Regions from separate parts of the Homo sapiens genome. Here region 2 is linked to region 1. The links are contacts of gene promoters, found by promoter capture Hi-C in blood cells and fetal thymus (Javierre and others, 2016). All regions are on one chromosome and are shown on one strand. The core of a region is centred on a gene start or on the middle of the fragment in contact, and the rest is flanking DNA. Distances in the headings are between cores, read along the strand shown.

What was found. Contacts are between HindIII fragments. The CHiCAGO score rates a contact against its expected background, and 5 or more counts as called.
Region 2: a fragment that was not itself captured here is called in contact with the fragment with the promoter of ZNF561 in region 1 in 1 of 17 cell types (total B cells); the score reaches 5.6 in total B cells.

The regions. Positions count from the first base shown.
Region 1 is chr19:9,618,145-9,623,767 of GRCh38, forward strand. ZNF561 (zinc finger protein 561) reads right to left here and starts at 3,088. Exons shown (of 6, transcript NM_152289.3): 1 at 3,018-3,088; 2 at 1,288-1,438; 3 at 1-35. The coding sequence starts at 1,312. ZNF561-AS1 (ZNF561 antisense RNA 1) reads left to right here and starts at 3,338. Exons shown (of 4, transcript NR_122038.1): 1 at 3,338-3,501. RefSeq lists enhancers at 2,267-2,849, 2,998-3,417. The HindIII fragment of the contact is 2,809 bases long and covers 632-3,440 here.
Region 2 is chr19:8,825,360-8,830,760 of GRCh38, forward strand. All of the region lies in intron 2 of ZNF558 (zinc finger protein 558), which reads right to left. Among named protein-coding and RNA genes, the nearest start is that of ZNF558, 4.2 kb to the right of the region's middle. The HindIII fragment of the contact is 986 bases long and covers 3,134-4,119 here.

The DNA.
Region 1 (5,623 bases), core at 1,838-4,337:
TTCAAAAGGGCAGATTGGTTCCCTGGAAAAAAACCCTAGTGGAAAAGTAAGAAGGCATGAGAAGCCAGAGCTGCCCATCCTTCCCACATTCTCATGCCTAGAAGTCATTCCATCCTAGCTTGAAATTCCGATATGCTCCTACACACTCGAGAAAACTACACACACAACACTTCCATGAAATGCCATAGTAAGTCCTGTGTCAGCTAGACACAAAAGCAGACTTGGGCCAAACTGCCTGTTGGGTAAAGGGTAATAGTTTCATTTTTCAAGGAAACTTACACCCTGAAAAATGTGACTCTCGTCCAGGTGCGGTGCCTCATGCCTGTAATCCCAGCACTTTGGGAGGCCGAGGCGGGTGGATCATGAGGTCAGGAGAACGAGACCATCCTAGCTAACACGGTGAAACCCCATCTCTACTAAAAATACAAAAAATTAGCCAGATGTGGTGGTGGGCATCTATAGTCCCAGCTACTCAGGAGGCTGAGGCAGGAGAATGGTGTGAACCCAGGAGGCGGAGCTTGCAGTGAGCCGAGATCGTGCCACTGCACTCTAGCCTGGGTGACAGAGCAAGACTCCGTCTCAAAAAAAAAAAAAGTGACTCTCTATCTGCCCATAGTAGTAACACTCATGAAGCTTATGTAGCATTTCCTAAGGTACACAAACCAGGGCTGAATTCTAAAACAGCATTCTGGCTGGGCACAGTGGCTCATGCCTGTAATCCCAATACTTTGGGAGGCCAAGGCGGGCAAATCACTTGAGGTCAGGAATTTGAGACCAGCCTGGCCAACATTATGAAACCCCATCTCTACTAAAAATAGAAAAATTATGGGAGGCTGAGGCAGAGAATTACTTGAACCCAGGAGACAGAAGTTGCAGTGAGTCGAGACCACAGGCACTGCACTCCAGCCTGGGAGACAGAGTGAGATTCTGTCTCAAAAACAAAAACAAACAAACAAACAAAAATTAGCCAGGTCTGGCAGTATGTGCTTGTGGTCCCAGATACTTGGGAGGCTGAGGCAAGAGAATCACTTGAACCTGGGAGGTGAAGGTTGCAGTGAGCTAAGATTGCACCACTGCACTCCAGCCTGGGTGACGGAACAAGATTCTGTCTCAAAAATAAATAAATAAATAAATAAATAATAAAACAGCATTCTGTTCTGTGGTTCACTTCAATTCCTCCTAAAAGAACCAGCTGCATGCCTGCTCAGGCTCAGCTCACTGGACGCTTGTGTTGTGGAGGGTGACCTAAAGCAGAATCTCTGAAAAAGAGCATCAACAAAGACTTACCACGGGACAAATAAATGGCTGCCATTCTCTGAAGCTGATGGTGTGATGATGTGCATCCCTTCCTTGATGCCAAGATCACCTCAGGCCAGCTTATGAATCTAGGTGGATAGAGGCAATCTCCATTCCTCTTTGTACAGGGTTATTTGCGGTCCTGTTCATATCAATCATCAAACAACAAGCATGAAACATCAGTCATCAAACATTATGCCTGAGCTTTGTCTCTGCAGGTGACAGATGTGAAGGCCACCAAAAATTGCCCACTCAGTACCGTCACTCAGTAACAAAAGTATTAATAACAGTAACTGACATTTACTGAGGACTGATATGTCAGAAGTAGCTCTAGTAGCTTTATATATACATGCTCAGTTAATTATCATAGCCATCCTTCCCAGTAGCTATCATTACCTCTATCTATCTATATCTATCTATATTTATCTATCTATATCTATCTATCTATATATCTATCTATATCTATCTATCTATATCTATCCTATCTATCTATCTATCTATCTATCGAGACAGGGTCTCACTCTGTTGCCCAGGTTGAAATCCAATGGCACTAACACAACTCTCTGTAGCCTAGACTTCCCGGGCTCAAGTGATCCTCCCACTTCAGCCTCCTGAATAGCTGGGACCATAGGTGCGTATCATCACTCATTATTATTATTATTATTTTGAGACAGAGTCTCACTCTGTTGCCCAGGCTGGAATGCAGTGGCATGATCTCAACTCATTGCAACCTCTGCCTCCCAGGTGCAAGCGATTATCAGGCCTCAGCCTCCCGAGTAGCTGGGATTTCAGGTATGCACTACCATGCCTGGCTAATTTTTGCATTTTTAGTAGAGACGCAGTTTCGCCATATTGGCCAGGCTGGTCTTGAACTCCTGGCCTTAAGTGATTCTCCCACTTCAGCCCCCCAACTAGCTGGGACTACAGGTGCACACCACTGGGTCCGGCTAATTTTTTGTAGTTTTAGTAGAGACAAGTTTTCACCAGATTGCCTAGGCTAGTCTCAAACTCCTGGGCTCAAACAATCCTCCTGACTTGGCCTCCCAAAGTGCTGGGATAATAAGCATAAGCCACGATGCCTGGCCCATTACTTCTATTTAATACTGAAAAAAACCTACACTCAAACAACCCTAGTAGTCGGTCTGATACTTGTCCCTAGAGCCTGATCTCCTGTATATGGTGTTACCCCCCCGCCATATGACCAGAAGACAGTGCAGACCTGCACAGAACAATTCAGTAGTCACCAGCCACGTGTGTTATTGATAACTTCATTACGTACCTAAGATGACTTAAGAACAAAATCTAAAATTTTCAAAAGTCGGCCGGGTGCAGTGGCTCACACCTATAATCCCAGCACTTTGGGGGACCGAGGCAGACAGATCACCTAAGGTCAGGAGTTCAAGACCAGCCTGGCCAACATGGCAAAACCATCTCTACTAAAGATAGAAAAAGTAGCCGGGCGTGGTGGCACTTGCCTGTAATCCCAGGTACTCGGAAGGCTGAGGCAGGAGAACTGCTTGACCCTGGAGGCAGAGGTTGCAGAGGTTGCAGTGAGCCGAGAGAGCGCGCAGCCTCTCCGAACTGGACGCACAGGGAGGACTGATAGTCCCTGGAGAAGCGAGTGAAGTGAAGCGGATCTGAGAGGCTCCTAGGCGACAGCGCGCAATCATTCCTTTGCCGCCCCCTGCTATCCCCGGGACCGCCAAGGAGGTGGAACTCACCACAGCCTGGGCAGACTCCACCACCATAAAGGCGAAACCGCACTGACGGAGAGGAGCCAGCGCCGGAAAAGATGGCGGTGGTGCGCTGACGTCACTTCCGCTTCAACACTCTGGCCGGGCGAGGCTCGTGGGCTCCAGTTTCAGCCACGTAGGACCGGGTAGAACACAGAAATTCTAGTTTCCTCTCGGGTGGGTGCAGAAAGGGCCTGGGGTTGGCTCAGGGAGGGGGATGCAGAACTAGGTCCAGAGAAAAAGGTGAGGTTAGAACCGGGCCTCCAGACGGAACTGTGGGCGAGGGGAGGGGCTCGTACTCGGGGGGTGATTTAGAGGAGGGACCCGGCCTAGCCGGTGGTTCAGGTGGCCGGTCGGGCTGGAAGGGCGGGGATGAGGGATGGGACGCATCCCCGGGGGATGCTCCTCCAAAGCTTTTATCGGGCGAGCGCAGTGGCTCACGCCTGTAATTCCTGCACTTTGGGAGGCTAAGGTAGGTAAATAGCTTGAGTCTGCTGGGAATGGGTGCTCGCTTGGTGTCACAAAATCAACACTGAGACAAAGGATCTCAGCAAGGCTAGTTTTACTTTCTGCAGAATGGGTGCCACTGGCTGGCAGTCTTGCCACCAGAGCACACATTAACAAAGGAGACAGGGTTTTTTTAAACTTGAAGTGTCCATCCTTCTGCTGTGTCCAGCTTCCATTGGCTGGAACGGGACCTCACCTTCCTGTACTTCACTGGATTGGCTAGCAACTTAGAACTTCCCAAAAGAGGCAATGGCAGAGGAGAACAAAGGAAGAGAGGAAGTAACTTGTGGACTGTTGAGAGAGGCAAAAACACTTCTAAATAGGGAAAGGAATAGGCCATGACCTAATAGTTGCTTGGACCAGTTCAGGCATGCCAGGGCAAATATCTAGGCTAAAATGTGGGAGCTAAAAACAGAGTCTATTGATTTCTTTATTACGGCTGGCAGAATTTAACAATATTACCACAGGTCTTTGAGAAAATTTGGCTTCTAAGAGGGATTACTATTTATTTCAATCAGACTGGGAGGAAAGTCCCTTTGAAGAGGAACCTGTATTTATTTCATTTTCTACAAGTCCAAGAGTTTGAGACCAGCCTGGGCAAAGTAGCAAGACCCTGTCTCTCTCTCTCTCTCTCTCTCTATATATATATATATAAACATATATGTATAAATACATATAAATATATAAATATATAAAAAATATATAAATATACATGTTCAAAATGCTTGTTCCCTGGTGCCATAAAGAAATTAGCACTTGAACATAAATTTAATTTACTCAGCAAGGCCATTTTTACTTCCTGCAGAAACGGTATACTCACCAGCAGTTTTGCCACGAGAGTACACCAAACAAAGGAGATAGGGTCATTTATAACCTGATGCTTCCAACCTACTGCTGTGTCCAGTTTCCACTGGCTGGAATGGGACCTCACGTTCTGGCTAGCAACTTATAACTTTTTAAAAGAGGCAAGGGTAGAGGAGAACAAAGGAAGGAGGAAGTAACTTGTGGAATGCTGAGAAGGGTCAAAACATCTTCAAATAAGGAAAAAGAACAGGCTATGCCCTAATGCTTGCCTGGACCAGTACAAGCATGCCAGGGCAAATATGTAGACTAAACTGTGGGAGCTAAGAATATAAAGTACATTGATTTCTTTATCACGGCTCACAGATACTTGAGAATGTTAGCACAGGTCTTTGAATAAATTTTGCTTCTAAGAGAAGTTACTATTTATTCCTAATTAAATGTGAAGGAACGTCTTTGAAGAGGAACCTCTGCTTTACTTTTTAGATATAAATATAAAGCTTGTTTGTATGCCTCTCCTCATGTTCCTAGAGCCTTTCCATGATTCTTCCATATTGATAAAGCTGCCAATGAATGGCATGGTCTATCCCTTCCATTCAGTCAGAGTTTCTGTAGGCCTTTTTTTCTTCATTCTTTATTTTTTAGAACCTGCTGATTCCATTGGGTTTTCTTTTTCTTTCTTGCTTGCTTGCTTGCTTGCGACAGATCTCACTGGATCAGACCAGGCTGGAGTGCAGTGGTGTGATCTCAGCTCACCGCAACCTCCACCTCCCAGGTTCAAGCAATTCTCCTGCCTCAGCCTCTGGAGTAGCTGGGATTACAGGCGCCTGCCACCACGCCCAGCTAATTTTTGTATTTTTAGTAGAGAACGATTTCACCAGGTTGGCCAGGCTGATCTCGAACTCCTGGCCTAAAATATCTGCCAGGCCAAGATGGTAGGATCGTTTAAGGCCAGGAGTTTAAGACAAGCCTGGGCTACACAGCAAAACCCCATCTCTCTATATATATATAAAAAAAATTTAAATTAAAAAATGTTTTGTTTTGTTTTGTTTTTTTGAGACATAGTTTCGCTCTGCCACCCAGACTGGAGTGCAGTGGTGCGATCTTCACTCACTGCAAACTCTGCCTCCTGGGTTCAAGCCATTCTTCTGCCTCAGCCTCCTGAGTAGTTGGGACTACAGGCATGTGCCACTGCGCCCAACTAATTTTTGCATTTTTAATACAGACATGGTTTCATCATATTGACCCAGCTGGTCTCAAAGTCCTGACCTCGTGATCCATCCACC
Region 2 (5,401 bases), core at 2,377-4,876, 790 kb before region 1:
CTTTCGATGGCAAAACCTGCAATTACTTTTGCAGCAACTTAATAAATAACAAAGAAACATGTAGCCAGGAAAAAAAAACCCCAAACCAAAACCAAAACAAAGAACCCCTGAAAAGATTTCTAGGTATTCAGAGAGATTATCTCCAATAAATTTAAGTGAAAAAAAAATCAAGGTACAAAGCAATGTCATGTGTCCTTTTTATAAGACGAGAAAGCCTCCTTTCTCCAGATTTATAGAATAAAACGTAACTCCATAAAGCCAGCTTCTGGAGGTTTCCATGTGTGACCTCCATGACATGAACCCAAAAGATAAAAGGAGTGAAGGGTGTGAATGGGCAGGGATGGGGGCACTGGACATTCAGGGTGAGTTCGGGTTCCGTCAAAAAATCAAGTTGGAGGGAGTCTTTGGCTCTTGGGCCTCTGTGGTAGACAGATGATTAACTTCCTGCTCTCCCAAGAAAGGGGTCTGTGTTCTAATCCCCAGAACCTCTGGATCTACTCCCTTACATGGCAAAAGGGATTCTGCAGCTGTGAGGAAGGCAAGGATCCTGACATGGGGGATGATGCTGGGTGGGCCCACTGTGATTACAGGGGTCCTTATAAAAGGGAAACAGGAGGGTCAGTTCAAAGAAGGATGGGATGAGATGAGAGAAGAAGGGAGCGTGTGTGTAGCAGGGAGGAGATAACATACAGAGAGACTGGAAGATGCTGCCCTGCTGGTGTTGATGATGGAGGAACAAGCCACAGTCAGGGAAGGCTGGTGGCCTCTACAAGATGAAAAACGCAGGAAATGGGTTCTCCCCTAGAGCCTCTAGAGCAGTGGTCCCCAACCTTTCTGGTACCAGGGACTGGTTTCGTGGAAGACAATTTTTCCATGGAGCACGGGGCGGCAGTGGGGCTGGGCAGGGAATGGTTTCAGGATGATGTTTTATAAGCACATTACATTTATTCTGCACTTTATTTCTATTATATTACACAGTAATATATAATGAAATAATTATACGACTCACCATAATATAGAGTCAGTGGGAGCCCTGAGCTTGTTTTCCTGCAACTAGATGGTCCCATCTGGGGGTGATGGGAGACAGCAACAGATCATCAGGAATTAGATTCTCCTAAGGAGTGTGCAATCCAGATCCCTCACATGCAAAGTTCACAATAGGGTTTGGGCTCCTATGAGAATCGAATGCTGCCACTGATCGGCCAGGAGGTGGAGCTCAGGTGGTAATGCGAGCAATGAGGAGTGGCTGTAAATACAGATGAAGCTTCGCTCACCTGCCACTCACATCTTGCTGTGCAGCCCTGTTTATAAGCACTGGTCCGTGGCCCAGGGGCTGGGGACTCCTGCTCTAGAGGGAATGCAGGCCTTCCAGCTTATTGAGGATTTCTGACCTCCAGCAAGGCAAGAGGATAAATGTGTGTTGTTTTAAGTCCCTGAATTTGTGGTAGTTTGTTATAGCATCAATAGGAAACTAACATGCCTTTCACATCACACCTTCCCTTTGGGTGAGTTCAGCAGACCCAGGCAACTGCTGCAGAACTTCCCTACCCTCTACAGGGGGAAGTATCTCCTTTTTCCCCGTAACAGACCTAATGTGCAGGTAGGCACACAGTAGTTCCAGTCACTGAGCTGGGGAGTGAGGGGGGGTTGGCCTCCAGCCAGCTCACTGGGCCTCCAAGAAAAAAACAAGTAGAGAAGGTACCTGGGACATTTTCAGGCCCCAAGTCCCTATTCAAGGCTGTCTGGAAGCAGAAATTTCCCACTAGGACAGGAGGGGTCTCTTCAGTTTACAGATCCTGTGACACCTGCCCTGCCCTGGATACAGTGCTGGAGGATGGTCACAGCAGATGGGCCACTCTATGTCAGCTGCCCAACACAACTTCTGGTGATGATGGAAATGTTCTATAATTCTGCTCTAATACTTGAAATGTGACTAGTATGGCTGAGAAAATAAATTTTATTTTTTTTGGGAGCAATCATCTGATTCCTAAACTACCTCCAAACACCCCCTCTTTTGCCTCTTAAATGTCTTCCTTCTGAATCCTGAAGTCCTTGTTATCTGCATGCTTACACTACATGCAAATTGCATCACCCTCTGGCCCACAACTCTTTAGTGTCTTCCCACTGGCCTGAGAACAGAGTCTGAAGTGAGGCCTAGTATGGTTCTGCCTCCCTCTTGATCTTGGTCTTGGTCACACTTCTTTCCCTATTCTTTTTTTTTTTTTTTTTTTTTTTTGAGGAGTCTCACTCTTACACCCAGGCTGAATGCAGTGGTGCAATCTCTGCTCACTGCAACCTCAGCCTCCCAGGTTCAAGCAATTCTCTTGTCTCAGCCTCCCGAGCAGCTGGGACTACAGGTGTGCACCACCACACCCAGCTAATTTTCGTATTTTTAGTAGAGACGGGGTTTCACCATGTTGGCCAGGCTGGTCTTGAACTTCTGACATCAGGTGATCAGCCCACCTTGGTCTCCTAAAGTGCTGGGATTACAGGTGTGAGCCACTGCGCCCAGCTTCTTTCCCTGTTCTTGTCTCGGCTTCAGCCATCCCTGTGTTCCCAGTGCAGGGAGCGTGGCAGCCTCTCTCCTGCTGCAGGGCCTTTCCTTACACAGCTTCTTCGACGGCAGTGCTCTCTTGGACATAACCCTGTCCCCTCACTCTAGTCGAGCCCTATGACTAGCTACATCTGACCCCAACTTGGAGATGGAGCAGCAATTCCCTTTTTCAGGGGCCTGTGAACCCCAAGTGGGAAAATAAAGGAAAATCCTGAAGTTCCTTTAAGGGAAATTCCGAGCATCCAGCTAGCCCCAAAAGTAAATATGGAACTTGTTAAACAGGAAGGTAATAGTAACCTAAAACAACAGCCAAAGAAGTTAAGGCTCCAGAGATGTTCGCTTTCCCCATGGAAACTAAAGATAACATCTTAACATGCGTCCCTGAGTTGCCTTTCAGAGGCTGGGACTCCCACTGAGGACCCCACCAAATGGAGCTGCTGGCTCAGAGACCCCAGATAAGCGGGACATGAAGGCTGAGCTTCAGCGTTCTTTGTGCTAAGTTTCTTCTTGAGGGGCTTGGAGAAAGTCACTTCTCCCAGCCAGTTAACATTTTCCTACTGACTCTAAATTTTTAAACAAAGCTTCTTTTCTTTAACCAATTACAAATCAGAAAAATCTTTGAATCTACCTATGACAAGCTCCTGCTTCAAGACATCCTTGCCCTTTTAAGTCTAAACCAGTGTGTAACCTCCATGTATTGCTTTATGATTTTGCCTGTAGCTTCTGCTTTTCTGTAACTTACCATTGCCTTCAGAAATCCTTGCCTAGCCGGGCACGGTGGCTCATGTCTGTAATCCCAGCACTTTGGGAGGCCTAGGCAGGCGGATCACCTGAGGTCAGGAGTTTGAGGCCAACCTGGCTAACATGGTGAAACTCTGTCTCTACTCAAAATACAAAAAATTTGCCAGGTGTGGTGGTATGTGCCTGTAATCCTAGGGACTGGGGAGGCTGAGGCAGGAAAATCACTTGAACCTGGGAGGCAGACGTTGCAGTGAGCTGAGATCGTGCCATTGCACTCCAGCCTGGGTGACCAAGTGAGATTCTGTCTCATTAAAAAAAAAAAAAAGGCCGGGTGTGGTGGCTCATGCCTGTATCATCTCAGCACTTTGGGAGGCTGAGGCGGGTGGATCACGAAGTCAGGAGATTAAGACCAGCCGGGCCAACATGGTGAAACCCCGTCTCTACTGAAAATACAAAAATTAACCGGGCATGGTGGTAGGCGCCTGTAATCCCAGCTACTCAGGAGGCTGCGGCAGAACTGCTTGAACCCGGGAGGCCGGGGGTTGCAGTGAGCTGAGATTGCAACACAGTACTCCAGCCTGGGTAACAGAGTGAGACTCCATCTCAAAAAAAAAAAAATTCCTTGCCTAAAAGCCACTGGGGAGGCCAGGATTTGAACATTTAATGTCTGGTCCTCCTTGCTTAGTGCTGTGCAATAAAAGCCTTTCTATCTATCGTAGCAACCCTCAATATAGACATCTGGTTTCACTGCACCACCAGGTGAGCAGACCCCAGTTTGGTTCTGTAACAACTTAAGCTCTCAAGCTAAATATCCTTCCCAAGAAAGCTTCCCTGTTCCCTCTGATCAAGTTCACTAGTGCCAAGCTCCCACATCACTCCTGTCATTCATGGTTTAAAATTTATCTTCCCTGTTAGAAGGTAAACTTTATGTAGGACAGGGGCCATTTCAGGTCCTCCAGGGTCCCTGTGCATCTGACCTAGGACCTGACTCATGGAGGCGACCTGGTTTGCCAAGGATTGTCCCGGTTTGAACACTGGATGCCCTGTGCCCTAGCAAACCCCTTGGTCCTGAAAAAATGAGGATGGTTGGTCACCATTAACTGTGCACTCAAATAATATCTATTGCATGATAAGTAAACATTCCTTCAAGAATGCTGTAGGAAAGCTAGAATGGAAAAGGTGAACACACACACAATTAGTAGAAACCCCACAATTTAATACTAGATTACTTAACATGATTCTCTGCAATATGAATCACCATACTGTTATTTCAGAGAAGTTTTAAGAAACAAAGTTAATTCCTATTAGGAGGTGATATCGTTGGCTCTGTGTCCCCCCACCCAAATCTCATCTCGAGTTGTAATAATCCCTATGTGTCAGAGGAGGGTCCTGGTAGGAGGTGACTGAATCATGGGGGCGGACTTCCCCCTTGCTGTTCTCCTGATAGTAAGTTCCCACAAGATCTGATGGTTTAGAAGTTTGGCGTTTATGTCTTCTCTCTCTCTCCTGCTGCCATGTAAGACGTGCCTTGCTTTCCCTTTGCTTTCTGCCATGATCGTAAGTTTCCTGAGGCCTCCCCCGCCATGCAGAACTGAGTCAATTAAACTTCTTTCCTTTGTAAGTCACTCAGTCTCAGGGAGTTATTTATAGCAGTGTGAAAACTCTCAGGTAGTTCTTTATAGCAGTGTGAAAAAGGACTAATACAGGAGGCAAGGTGCAGAGGACAATCTTTTTGGAAACCAGTTCCCTACCCTTCAATCTATAAGTTGTTGCTTAATATTCTTCCAAATGTTTTCAAATCTCATTAGGAAAAAAAAAATCCCATTACTCAAAACACATCTGGTCGCCGGTCAATTTAATTTTAAATTTGTTACTAATAAATCATCCTTTTTACAAATGCCCTTATATTTTGAAGTTTGGTGGAGGGCCAATATGCCTTTAGAAATCAAATCAACAGCTGGGTGCGGTGGCTCTTGCCTGTAATCCCAGCACTTTGGGAGGCTGAGGTGGGCGGACCACTTGAGGTCAGGAGTTAAAGACCAGCCTGGCCAACATGGCAAAAACCTGTCTCTACTAAAAATACAAACAAAATTAGCTGGGCGTGGT